Regions from separate parts of the Homo sapiens genome. Here region 2 is linked to region 1. The links are contacts of gene promoters, found by promoter capture Hi-C in blood cells and fetal thymus (Javierre and others, 2016). All regions are on one chromosome and are shown on one strand. The core of a region is centred on a gene start or on the middle of the fragment in contact, and the rest is flanking DNA. Distances in the headings are between cores, read along the strand shown.

Region 1 (6,822 bases), core at 2,226-4,725:
TACTTAACCTCTCTGCATCTGCTTTCTAATCTATAAAACCATGATATTGATGTCTATCTCACAAAGACTTGTTAAGAGATTAGATTACATATGACGTAAAGTGTCTCTGTACTTTAAGCTAAATAATATTAGCCCTCCTTCCTTCATTATCTAACATCACTTTTCAAAGCCCTTCCTTCAAAAATAGTTTCATGTTCCTCTTTCCCTCAAAAATGTGAAATAATAGATATGATGATGGAGTCAATCAACTAGTTATATTGTCTTTTACAGCAAGGAGTTAAGAACTTTGGTCATGATAATGATACTTATAACTACTTTAAATTTGAAAACAGAACCAAAACGTCCATTTCACTTTGATTTCACATATGCTTTTCTCCCTAACACAAATGCACCAGGCAGTAAAGTTAAGGGATCATTTACCTGCTTCCATGGATCAAAGCTACACTACCTAAGAAGAAAAATGATGAGACAACTTGCACTATAGTGATTTCCTCAGTAGTCTGCCCTGATTGGAGGGTATTACTTGTCTTTTTTCCTCTATCATCTTTACTTCCCACTCAAGTGATCGGGGAGTAGCCAAGGTAATAATTTCCTCTTGTGAACTATTATTATGAAGCTAAAGAATGTGTATAATGTTCTTCTCAACTTCTTTCATCCATCTTAACTCTGGTTATTTATTTAAGGCTGATTTGGTCTCCATGGAAGAAACAACAATACCATGCTCCTTTCAGGTGTTTAATTTTTACATATGAAAATTAACTTCTTTCATTTCCATTTATTCTCTCACATTTATTATCACCTACTGTATGCTAAGGACACAATTAGGCTCTAAGTATAAAGGTTTCTAGATCATTTATAAAATTTGTGAGATTGGTTTCCAAGGAAAGGTGAAACTAAACACATAAATTACCCAAAACATATCTATCAAGCAAATGAGCTAAAAGCAAAAATACAAACCATGATTTATAAAACTCAAGCCCTAAATTACATGTAGTCTCACACTTTTTTCCAGATAGCAAGTAAATACACATTTTCTGTATTATAAATTTTTTCTCTTGAGCTTAGCTTGATAATCAACCATGTTTTTTGGCAGAAGCAAGAGAGCTATCCACCTCTTCCCCTCTTTTTCTCCCCACTACCCCCAACACATATTCCAAATATGCTGTTAACTATCTCTTAATATGGTAACTCCCTTCATTCACTCACTAAAGTCACAAACTTGATAAAATTTGGCATAAAGACCCATCCTAGTTACTACTACTAGTGATTACTAAGGAAAGAAAGAGGAAGTGCTAAGAGTAGACAAGAGTAGGAATTAATCTTACAGGTATTGGGACCAGACATAAGGAGTATTACAGTATTTTCAGTCTTCAGGCTAGAAGTTTTTCTTCTTGGGAATCACAAAAATATTAAGACCACTACACAGACTTCATTTGCAGCTGTGGCAAATGAATGAATTTGATTTGTTTGAAATCAACGTATTTGCCTCTAAATGCTATTCTTCAAAAATTCAAAACACTAACGATCACATTTAAGCACAGAATTAACATAAACCAGACTGCAGTTACCACTTTGCTGCAACACAAGAAAACAATTATCTCCAAAATTAATTTTCTTAATTTCTTTCAACTACACCAATTTTGTGTTACGTTTCTTTTCCTGTCATGAATTCTGAAAACTGTCATCCCCACATCTAAACATTTCAGTCTAATCAACAGAAACTAAAAAGAAAGAAAAAAGAACAGAAAATTAGTCCACGACACTTGAACATAAAAAGAACATGTTGAAAATCACACTCAAGTGTCTCTTTTAAAGTTCCAAGCAATGGTTCAGTTTCCCTTTTTCTCTCTGCTCTGCACACCCTCACCTCCCCCCGCCCCCACCATTCCACTTCGCCCAGACAGAGGGTAACAGTCTGAGCTGCCCTGGTTGAGTTGATCCTAAAGTTAACATTCAGCAGCCCATTTCCAGACAGCAGCGCTAAATCTATTTGGATAAAACGCGTGTGACCCAGACAGTTGGCATCTGGCCCAAACGCGTTGCACCGGCAGCTCAAATAAAAACAAGAGTAAGAAACTCACTCTCTTGTTCCCTCTCAGTGCGCTTTCTCAATCTCTCGCTCACTTTTCCTCTAGTACAGGGAAAGAAAGCATCAAAGACAGGAATTGTAGCACATATTATCAGAAAGAGGCTTCCCAATACCCCATTCCTGCACTCTCACTCTCCCTCCTCAATCCCTGAACTTTGGTCCCATACACCATATATACAGACCTACCCCGATAAACAAGGCTCCGGAGGGTTATGAGTCTAGCACGTCCCAAGTGGCCAAAAGTAAATCAAAAACACACGTTTCCATCTCTTTGATTAGCCTATTAAGAGCTTAACATGTCCTAGAGCATCGGGGCTACAGCTAGCACATTAATGCTACCCTCTGAGCCCAGGCATAAAATATGCACTTGTCTGAAGACTTAACGACACTGACATGAAACTACAAAATGCATAAGACTTTTCTGTAAGAAAACTGGAAATCAATTTAAAACACACACATCATTATTACCTTCCGGATTACTATTTGGTGATCAGTTAAAAGATTACAATAATCATAATCAAGTCCACTTCACAAAACATGTATTGTATATTCATAAAATAAACGTATTTTTTTTGCATCATAAAATAACTGCAAGTCCCAGAATTCTACAACCCCCGACAAGTCTGGAGTTAAAAAGATATCTATTTGTAAAATGAGTTCAGTCAAGCTCACTCATTGCCATTAAAAAAAAAAAAAAAAACACACACACAGAAAAAAAGTTTTCTAAGCGTTATTCGGAAGACAAGCAAAGCACAAGTTGTTGGTTTAAAAAAAAAAAGCTCCATTGAATATTGTTAAGTCTTCCTTACCGTTTTCATCTTCAAATTCTGATAAAAAGTAAGTTTCAGACAATAGAGATTGCACTGGACGACTCACGTACTCCCTCTCCTCTCTAACTTTTTTTAATTTTTTTTATTTTTTTATTTTTTGCCCCCCTTTGCAAAGCCACACCAGCCAGTTATTCTGCAGCCAGAATAAAACCCTATGGTCTGGCTAACCCGGGCTTTAGAGAACTGACTTTCCGATTTGGCAGAATAAGAGATGCCTTCAATACATCTAGGCTATCACTCTGAGATGCTGCCTTTGCAAACCCCCTTTCTCTCCCTCCCCACCCCCCAAAAAAGGAAAGGAAAAGAAAGAAAAGACGGGAAAAAAGACTTATTGGGGGTGGAAGTGGTGCCCTCTCTTCCTGGAAAGCTTAGTGCCTTTGCTATGCAAATAACATGTGCAGAGCATCAAAAGGTATCAGGAGAAAAGAAGACAAGAGGAGCAGGAAGGGCAGCAAAGTTTTGTTGAAGTAGCCCTAGATCTCACTACCGGCCCCCAGCCAACTTGAATTGCAGCAGGAGAAAATTTTGGCAGCTTTTCCTCGGAGGCAGAGCACACTGACGTCAGTCTGCAGATGTGCCTGGGCTGCGTCGGGTGCGCATGTGTCCTGGGTCGTCACGTGGAGGGGGAGGGGAGGTAGAGGTACAATCGGGGTAACCAACTACCAGCCATTCAGAAGGGCTTAGACAATGTCAACTTTTCCACACTGTGAATGAGAGAAATTCTGGCCTCTCTAACCTCTCTGTCCTATCTCATTCCGCCTCTTTTCCTCCTCCTCCTCTAAACTCTCTTAGAAATTCTAGCCTGGTTTGCTATTAGTTGTTTCTTGGAAAAATGAAGGGGGAGGGAGAAGGATGAATGACTTTAGATGGACTAATGTCACTGTTAAGATCTCTGGTGTCATTCTCCGTGTAATTTTATTTTTAAAATCCACACAATCAAAATGTTAAAACTTGCACGCAAACAGTGCCTCTGAGGAAACTTAAAGCTTAGATTCGTGCAGCAGGCACAAGACTCAGTAGCTACAAGTGTACAAAATGCCTGTGTTTTATACATACTTCAGCAAGTAAGGTTAGCACCAAAAGGGAAAGTAAACTAAAGTAAACTAATACCAGCACATTTTCCATTTGATTATCGACTTCAGGTTATGTGGAGCTTTAAAAGAAGAAGAAGAAGAAAAAAAAAAAGTAGGGGAGGAGGGAGCGGGGGAAGGAAGAGAGAAGCTTGCATTATTTCCAGATGAGGGTGAGACTGGATGGTGTTTTAAAGTGCAACCGGGAAAAGCCACAAGTGGAGTGTATTTTTTTAAGTCAGTCCATTGAATGAAACTTCAATGACTGCCCAAATGAAAATAAATCCGAAGTAGGACCCCACCACCAAAAAAAAAAAGGAAGGGAAAAAAACAGGAACCCTGCTGCGATCTCAAGATAAACAAACAAAACCTCAAAACTGGTTCTTCAACCTTCCCAATCCCACCCTCCCTCCCCCCTACACACAAGCTGCCAGTCCAGACTTTAAGGATAAAATACCGCTACAATGTAGCACTTTCACTTTCATTTGCTGAGAATGAAAGCCGCTGGGGAGAAAATGCCCAGTGTTTTCCATGTCCTAAGCAAGCAAACAAAGTCTGGCACATACATCGGAAACAGGAAAAAATGTGAAAATAGCTCAGGACAAATGTTGCCTTTCAACGGTGTAATCTGCTGCATCATTTATCTGTCTCTACCATTGAGTGTAGAATAGGGAGCTGTTTAAGAGTTTCCGAGGTTGGGGGCAGGGGAAAATTGACGCCTTGAAATTCCAGCCCTTAGTTAATGCCAAGTCAATTTCCGATGGTGAGAACCAGAAAGGAGAACTGGACCGGAGGGAAGGGGGTAGGAAGGATGATCTTTCTGAATACCAGCTCTTAAATATCAAGCTTCTGCTAACATTATTGCCCATTTGATTTTTTTTTTTCTTCCTACGCCGGAGGTAGTAGGTGTAATTCTTCTGGTGAATCTATGAATAGTTGGCTAAAAGGAGGCATGAATCAGACTGAGAACGTCCAAGAATACAGTTATTTCAATTCTTCTTCAAGGGTTGAAAGTGGAAAGCATCTGTCCACAGAGTAAATAGTCCTCATCCTGACCTTAATCAGTAGTATCTGGCTAAAAGCCATTTAAAATGTAGAAATCTGTTCAATAGTGGGCATTGAGTTTTAAATAAAGATGATTCATATGTATGTATGTATGTGTGCGTATTTGTATGTGTATATATATGTGTGTACATATATGTGAAATACATGAGGTAGCAAAATATAGCAATAATTGTAAACACCAAAAATAAGAAAAGTAGGCATCAAATGACTATTTAAATAGTGTTGAACCTTAACCTTCCTTAATTTTTCAAGTACTGGCAGTAAATAGGGACAGCCAGCACACACACAAAAAATAAAGGTATGAGCAGTAAACATCTATATAAGCTCTGAAAAGATTTTACCCTCAACTAAGATAAACTGCCCTACAAAGTAGCAGCTTGTAGAGGAGCTTACTTAGTGGGAGTGGACTTTGGCTAATTACTTATTCAAAGAGTGCCATCCTGTGTCTAAACAGAGTAATGAAATTTTTCCAACAGATTCTGTCTCCAAGTTGATTGGGTCAAGAATACTGTGAATAATTGGTGAAAATTGATTAGGGTGGGAAATGGCGAACTGTCAATTTAACTTTATATATGTGTATATATATGTGTTTGTGTAAATGTTTTAACTGCATTGCAGAAAATTTCAAACATATACAAAAGTAAAAAAAAAAACAGTATAATGAACACTCATGTAGCCATCATCCAGTTTCAAGTGTCCAAGTGTGACCAACTTTGTTTCATCTATCATTTCATCAGATATCGTTTCATTATTTCCCTGTATTTCTAAAAGTACTAAAAAAATATACACCACTATTATTCTTAAAACATTAATAACTCATGTCATCAAATATTGTACTCAGATTTCCCAATTGCAAAAAGGGCTTTAAAAAATGCCTTTTTATTAGAATCAAGATCCATACATTGCAATGGCTCCATCTTTTCTTAATAAACTTTTAATTGAAAATATTCATGCAGAAAAATGTATAATTACATAGTTTGATGACAAGTGTCCAGTCTAATGAATTTTCACAAGTCAACTGGCCCATGTAACCGCCATTCTCTTGTCTCTTTTTAAAATTTTTATTATCTATTTACTTATTTAAATTGACTAATAAAAAATACATATATTTTAGCTGGAACTACAGGCATGAACCACCATCCCCAGCTAAGTTTTTATTTTTGTAGAGATAGGGTCTCCCTGTTGCCCAGGCTGGTCACGAACTCAGCCTCAAGTGATCCTCCTGTGTCCGGAATTTGGTGGGTTCTTGGTCTCACTGACTTCCAGAATGAAGCTGCGGACTCTCAGGTGAGTGTTACAGTTCTTAAAGGCAGCGTGTCCGGAGTTTGTTCCTTCTGATGTTCAGATGTGTTCGGCCTTCTGGTGGGTTCGTGGTCTCGCTGGCTCAGGAGTGAAGCTGCAGACCTTCGCTGTGAGTGTTACAGCTCATAAATGCAGTGTGGACCCAAACAGTGAGCAGCAGCAAGATTTACTGCAAAGAGCGAAAGAACAAAGCTTCCACGGTGTGGAACGGGACCCGAGCAGGTTGCCACTGCTGGCCCAGGCAGCCTGCTTTTATTCTCTTATCTGGCCCCACCCACATCCTGCTGATTGGTAGAGCCCAGTGGTCTGTTTTGACAGGGTGCTGATTGGTGCGTTTACAATCCCTGAGCTAGACACAAAGGTTCTCCACCTCCCCACCAGATTAGCTAGATACAGAGTGTCCACATAAAGGTTCTCCAAGGCCCCACCAGAGTAGCTAGATACAGAGTGTCTATTGGTGCATTCA
Region 2 (7,093 bases), core at 1,112-3,611, 270 kb before region 1:
AAAATTATGAAATTAAGTGGCATGCTATTCCTTCTTTCATTCCCTTCTCTGATGCTCCTCTCTACTTTCCCATCCCAGATACTCATTCCTAAGTCTCATAACCTTAGAATTCAACTAGTAGCCACTTAAAAACAGAGATCTGTGTTAGTAATGCTCCCAGAGGTACTTGCATCTGAATGTTAATTTTTTGAAGACTAAAACTTTTAATCAGTTTCAAAAGCAGTACTTCTCAACCGGGGCTGTATGTTAGAATTACCTATGGAACTTTTCAAAGCCTGATGTCCAGGCCACACCCCCAGCCAATTAAAGAAGACTCTCTGGGGGTGGGGACAAAGTATCATCATTGTTTAAAGTTCTCCTTGGGTATTCTATTGTGCAGCCAAAGTTAAGAACCATTGCTCTATGGAAGGCATTTGAAAAAATGAAATTTCAAGCTAGTGAAGGAGATCTTTATGGGTGGGGATATATCATGTTTCCCTACTGAGGCAGCCAACTGGTGAAAAAGCTCTTTTTATTACAAAAGAACACCTCATTACTAAATTAAAAAGGTCACTAGAGACTAAGTTGCTAGGTCTTGATTTCAGCAAATTACTTGAATTCTACCTATAAATTATGACTAGTAATTTCATTGCCTATCTTATGGAGCTACTGAAGATGATCAAATGAAATATAGTACCAGAAAATGTTTTAAACTTTACAATTTTATTATTGCATAGCTGAGCAGTAGAACCACCTGTCACCAAAAAGATTAGTGATACTATGGTTACAACTATAATATAGATTATTACCTAAAAGACTTGTCACTCTGTTTAGTGGGCATTTACTTTAGGAAATCTAAGTGTCTACCCCAGAGCCCCGAAGTACAGTTCCTGAGCCAGTGGCACCAGCAACACCTGGAAACTTAGAAATGTAAATTCTTAAAGCCTCCCCTAGACTACTGAATCAGAAATTGTTGGTAGAACATTGCAATCTGTGTCTTAACAAGCCCTTCAGGTAACTCTGATGTGTGCTTAAATTTGAGAACCACATATCTAGCCAAACATCGTAAAAAGAGAATATGTATGAATAAAATCAAAGGATGAATATACAGTATTTGTTATTTGAAACTTTAGAAGTCACAGTGCATAGGTATACTGGCATAAATTACCACTTTTAAAAATCTCCTACAGCTTTGTATTTTAAAACAATACAACTTTCCCTACCCAGACAAGATTCATTAATTAGCAACTGATTATAATCACTAATCCAATGGTAGCATATAAATTCGGGAGTCAGTAAATTATAAAGTATAAATATGTTTGGGTAAGGAATACAGAAACAAATTCTAGTAGCAATGGTTCTGGAAATAGCCATGTTTTTGGGCTTGGATTTCTCTCTGAGGAAGAGTTACAGCAGTATCTCAAAAATCACACATATACTGAAGACAACACCCCATAGCATCTCAATGTTCCTTATGAGGCAAAGGAAGTGTTTCATTACTGACTCAGAGAAAAGACCATTACTTGGACTGAATCACCAATGTTTCCTGTAGCATTAGATTTGTCACTGGATCTGCTAAGCAACAGAAAAAGTCTCAAGCTTCTTATCTTAAAAGATCTCATAAGAGAAAGCTATCATTATTGCTCCCAAACTCAATTAAAGCCCAAAGGTCTGGATATTAATAAAACATATGCAGGAAAATAACAAGTGAGAACACTGAAGGATCTTGTGAGACTGCCACCGAAAGTTCTTTGAGATCTTTCTTGTTTTCTCTTTGCCACTTAAAAGAATTTTGACAGCCTCAAGACACCCAGCACCTCCTTGGAGAGATGAACATGGAGTATCTCAGTTAAGAACTGACTTTATCCCTTTTTCCCACCTAGCACTGCTGGGCCTGCAGGTCTCTGTCAAGTGGCAGACAATAAATAAATAAAAAACACACACCCAAATACAGGTTGATAGCTCACATAACAAACAGAGATACCATTTGTCAGATTGCTTATGCCCATATGTAAGGGGATATGATAGTTTGCACAGCATACGCACATGAACTGCCAAAATATGGTGTGAAGATTGGCCTGACAAATGATGCTGCAGCGTACTATATTGGCCTGCTGCTGGCCCACAGGCTTTTCAATAGGTTTGGCATGGATAAGATCTATGAAGGCCGGCCGGGCGCGGTGGCTCACGCCTGTAATCCCAGCACTTTGGAAGGCCGAGACGGGCGGATCACGAGGTCAGGAGATCGAGACCATCCTGGCTAACACGGTGAAACCCCGTCTCTACTAAAAATACAAAAATTAGCCGGGCATGGTGGCGCGCGCCTGTAGTCCCAGCTACACGGGAGGCTGAGGCAGGAGAATGGCGTGAACCCGGGAGGCGGAGCTTGCAGTGAGTCGAGATCGCGCCACTGCACTCCAGCCTGGGCGACAGAGCGAAACTCCGTCTCAAAAAAAAAAAAAAAAAAAAGATCTATGAAGGCCAAGCGGAGTTGATTGGAGATGAATATAATGTGGAAAGCATTGATGTTCAACCAGGTGTCTTTATCTGCTATCTGGATGCAGGCCTTGCCAGAACTACCACTGGCAATAAAGTTTTTGGCACCCCAAAGGAAGCTATGGATGGAGGCTTGTCTATCCCTCACAGTACCAAACAATTCCCTGGTTATGATTCTGAAAGCAAATAATTTAATGTGGAAGTACACCAGAAGCACATCATGGGCCAGAATGTTTCAGATTACATGTGCTACTTAATGGAGGAAGATGAAGATGCTTACAAGAAACAGTTCTCTCAACACATAAAGAACAGTGTAACTCCAGACATGATGGGGAAGATGTATAAGAAAGCTCTTGCTGCCACAGGAGAGAATCCAGTCTATGAGAAGCCCAAGAAAGAAGTTAAAATGATGAGGTGGAACCATCCCAAAATGTCCCTTATAAAGACAATAGACTTAATGACAGCAAAAACAAAAACAAAAACAAAAAACCAACAAAAAAAGAACTGACTTTAGAATTCATCCTTAGTTTCTGAGTGAAAGGTAAGTAGAAATGACTTCTTGAAGGGTTTCTTAACGATAAAATGAAGTTTCATTAAGGAGAAGATGACTCTGGCTTTTTCTTGGGTCAAAGTTCCTAAACTCTAAAGGGACTTTACTTCCCTCAATCATAAGCTTCTTAAGAACCTGGGGTTAAAAGTGAGGGTTAAAAGTAAGCTTCTTAAGAACCTGGGGTTAAAAGTGTAAGAAGAGCAACTTCAACAATTGATTCCTGCACTCTATATCCTAGGAAATATTTTCCACCTATTCAAAGTAAGCAAGATGGCTGGGTGCAGTGGCTCACGCCTGTAATCCTAGCACTCTGGGAGGCTGACGCAGGTGGGTCACTTGAGGTCAGGAGTTCAAGACCAGCCTGGCCAACATGGTGAAACTCCGTCTCTACTAAAAATACAAAAATTAGCCAGGCGTGTTGGTGGGCGCCTGTAGTCTGAGCTACTTGGGAGGCTGAGGTGGAATAGTCACTTAAACCCGGGAGGCAGAGGTTGCAGTGAGCCGAGATCACACCACTGTGCTCCAGCCTGGGTGACAGGGTGAGACTCTGTCTCAAAACACAAAAAAACCCAAAACAAAACAAAAAATAAACAAAAAAAACAAAGTAAAAAAGAGAGGAGCTTGGTTTTACCTACCTATGCTAATTAAAATGATACTGTTTTTCCTTGGCAAAGCTTTGCCCCACTCTATAAGAAAAGTAGCAACTCTAAACTTTCATCTCCCACATTAGAAAGGACAAGCACAAATATATAATTGCCAAAATTAATTCCTTTTACTCATTCACTCATCTAGCATTTTGGGAGGCCACCATTGGCCTCATTAAGGTGCTCAATAAGGTGCACTTATTGGGCCCCTACTATGTTTCGGATATTGTTCTAGGGGCAAAATGAGTTTACAAAGATGCACAGACTTCAGTGATGAAGACACGGATTCCACGTGTCTAGAGTGCTGGGTTTGGTTTCTCTGTCAGCCAAGACCAGTGGTACACAAACTTGAGCGAGCAACAAAATCACCTGCAGGGCTTGTTGAAACGCAGATTAATGCGCCCCACTCGAAGAGTTTCTGTTCAGTAGGTCTGTAATGGGGTGCTCAAATTAGCATTTCTAACAAGTTTCTAAATGATGTTGATGCTGCTGGCGGGACCAGACTTTAAGAACCACTTACCGAAACAAATGGCAGCTCTTTACACCATGCCCTCTATATCCCTCATTTGAAGAAGGCAATAGCCTCAAGAATGCTCATAATCACCCACAACCAACCCTAATGTGAGTTCCCAGAACCACCTCCAGTATCTAAGACCAGTAGCTCCAGATCACAGAAAGAAGAATAAATAACAAGGAAGAGAAAGCTCTCCCTTCCAGAGGCTTTTCTCTCTCTTTTTTTTTTTTTTTTTTTTTTTACCCCCTACCACAAGAAATCACTTCTATTTCTCAATGCAAGTGTTATGGAAAAAAATAACACTCATTTAGACTTTTTACTTTCTGACTTCAACAAAATTATATTTTTTTCTTCCAAATTCAGTTCTCATGGCCTTTTTCCTCTTCTTCTTCTTTGCTTTTTTGTTGGATTATCTCCTTTCTGAACAAATAGAATCATAGGATTGAAGGAACATTAAGAATTCATTTAATCCTTTCTTGGTCTCAGACAAGACTGTATCTAAACCATCCCCAAATATAGCAATTTCAGTACAAAGATGAAGCGGCTCTAAGAATTTCCCATTCAACCTTCTGTCGTATGCTAATATGCATCCCCTTAGCTTTCTTTTCTCCAAGCTAATCCACTTTAACTTTAGACTATCCTTATTAGATTTCCTAAACTTCAAATTATTTAAATTATTCTTTAATAAGTTTATCCCACCTTGCCTCAGGGCCTGAATTATGTATGTATTGTTCTAGAAGACTTTTTGTTGGAATATGCAAAGGGAAAAGTTAATTTATAGAATAAAAAGAATTGAATTGGATAAAAGATAGATATATGTATAAATGCCACTAAAAATAATGCAATGGCATATACTTGATCAATTAGTTGCAAATATTTCTTTATTTAAAAATGGTAATGTCCTATGGCTTTAAAAACTTTACATTACAAATCACCAGCCATTTTACACATAAAATGGATGGGAACTAGAGATCTTTTAAAATATGTCACGAATTATACATAACCATGTTTCATGATACTTTACACAGTAGAGTACATTAATATATTATTATTCATCTTTTTTGTTTTTTTCATGTTGTATAGACTTTATATTGAAATTGGAGTTGTAGTTAATCATTGCTTTAATTCTGTATGAGACTAAAAATACTGAATTAGGCTGGGCGTGATGGCCCATGCCCATAATCCCAGCATTTTGGGAGACTGAGGCAGGAGGAATGCTTGAGGCCAGGAGTTCCAGACAAGCCTAGGCAACACAGTGAGATCCTGTCTTTACAAAAATTTTTAAAATTAGCCAGGTGTGGTGGCGTGCTCCCTAGCTACTCAGAAGGTTGAGGTGGGAGGATCACTTGAGCCCAGGAGGTTGAGGCTGCAGTGAGCCATGATCGTGTCACTGCACTCCAGCTTGGGCAACAGAGCAAAAACCTGTCTCAAAAAAAAAAAAGTAATAAGTAATAAAATAAAATAAAAATACTGAATAGATTATATGTTAATTATTTCTCTAAAAATAACCTCTCTGATTTAAGACTTGAAAATCAGAAGATGCAAATACAAGACAGGATGAAGTCTATATAAAAATCATATATTTCTGCATAGTTTAAAAAAGGAGTATAGGTAATGTATTGGATGATTTACTTTATTTTAATTTTTCCCAAAATAAATATCACTATTTAAAATTTAATCTTTGCTTCTGGAATGGTGAGGTGATCTAGTCCAGCCTAGGCCTGAAGGACAGGTTTGTTTCCTTGCCTGTTAGGATCAAGGTGTACGGTGGAGGCGATGCATTTAGTCTCCAGAGAGAAGGAAGATGCTGCTTGCACAGCACTTCTACTCACCAGTCCATGCAGCAGCAAGGGTGTTGGCTTTGAAGGAAGCCAACTGTCCTGCTCTCCCAGCCAGAGGTAAAGAATTGCATTGGTGGCCACTAGAGGGAGGAGGATTAGGAATAGAGTAAATTGTAGGGAAAAGGCACCCATGAAAAACGCACATGGGACAACCAACACATCACCAACCACCGCCTAGCAGCTACCTCTGAGGGACTGTAATGGGGTCAGTATACACCATTAACCCAGAACCCAGATACCAGTAATTATTGTAGCATCCCAGTATACAGCCCCTTAACTTTGATGGCAGGAGAAGGGAGTTTGAATAGGATTGTGGCAAACACACAGGCACACAAACACACACAACAAGCACACAGCCGTACATTCTCATCTCCCATTACAAGAAGTTGCATCTGTGATGTCTGATTCTTGCTCATTTTCTTTTTTAAAACTTTTGATGTTCTTTACCAAGAATGTGTTCACGAAAGGCAAACAGCCCACCTTCAAGATAGTCTTGGGAGAAGCACCAGCAGAGACACTCATTGTGCCAAGATGTATTTTACCAACAAATCTGCACAAATTACATGAGGTTGAAAACAAATGGAATATAATATAATTAAAGCAAAGTTTCTTTTGCTAAATTACAGCTTGAAGCAAACCTGCAAGAAATGTTTCCAATTAGCTTTTTTAACAAACACAAAGCATAGCTCAGAATGTGTTTTGTTCTCCATCTTGCCCTCTGGGTGGGCTGCCTAGTGGGCATCTTACCTCCAGCACAAGTAGCTGAGCATTCTGACCAAGGCTGATGATTCCATGTAAAGCCAACTTCATTATCTCCACTGCCAGTTCGAGTGATGGGAACATTGAACTTATACCTAATTCCCAAATTCTGTTCTTGAAGCAGAACCTGCCATTGAAAACAACTGGTGAAGACAATTAAAATACAATGAGCCTTCATTCAGATATTTATTATTCCTTTTGAAGAAGAAAATGTCAAAACAAGTCTTACAGGAAACTTAATATAAAACACATGCATTTATATCAAATTTTCTCCTCCCATTTTCATGGGTATTTTGGAGCCATTGCTTTC

What was found. The method cuts DNA at HindIII sites, captures the fragments that hold promoters and counts their contacts. A CHiCAGO score of 5 or more calls a contact.
Region 2: a contact is called between a fragment that was not itself captured here and the fragment with the promoter of ADAMTS6 in region 1, in 8 of 17 cell types (endothelial precursors, megakaryocytes, erythroblasts and 5 more). The highest score is 23.3, in endothelial precursors.

The regions. Positions count from the first base shown.
Region 1 is chr5:65,478,445-65,485,266 of GRCh38, forward strand. It overlaps ADAMTS6 (ADAM metallopeptidase with thrombospondin type 1 motif 6), which reads right to left and starts at 3,476. Exons shown (of 25, transcript NM_197941.4): 1 at 2,899-3,476. It overlaps LOC124900986, which reads right to left. Exons shown (of 2, transcript XM_047417970.1): 2 at 5,897-6,822. RefSeq lists enhancers at 3,229-3,588, 3,356-3,855, 3,629-3,678, 6,727-6,822. The HindIII fragment of the contact is 619 bases long and covers 3,285-3,903 here.
Region 2 is chr5:65,208,023-65,215,115 of GRCh38, forward strand. It overlaps ADAMTS6 (ADAM metallopeptidase with thrombospondin type 1 motif 6), which reads right to left. Exons shown (of 25, transcript NM_197941.4): 20 at 6,772-6,910. It also overlaps the pseudogene LOC100419140. Among named protein-coding and RNA genes, the nearest start is that of ADAMTS6, 270 kb to the right of the region's middle. The HindIII fragment of the contact is 1,570 bases long and covers 1,577-3,146 here.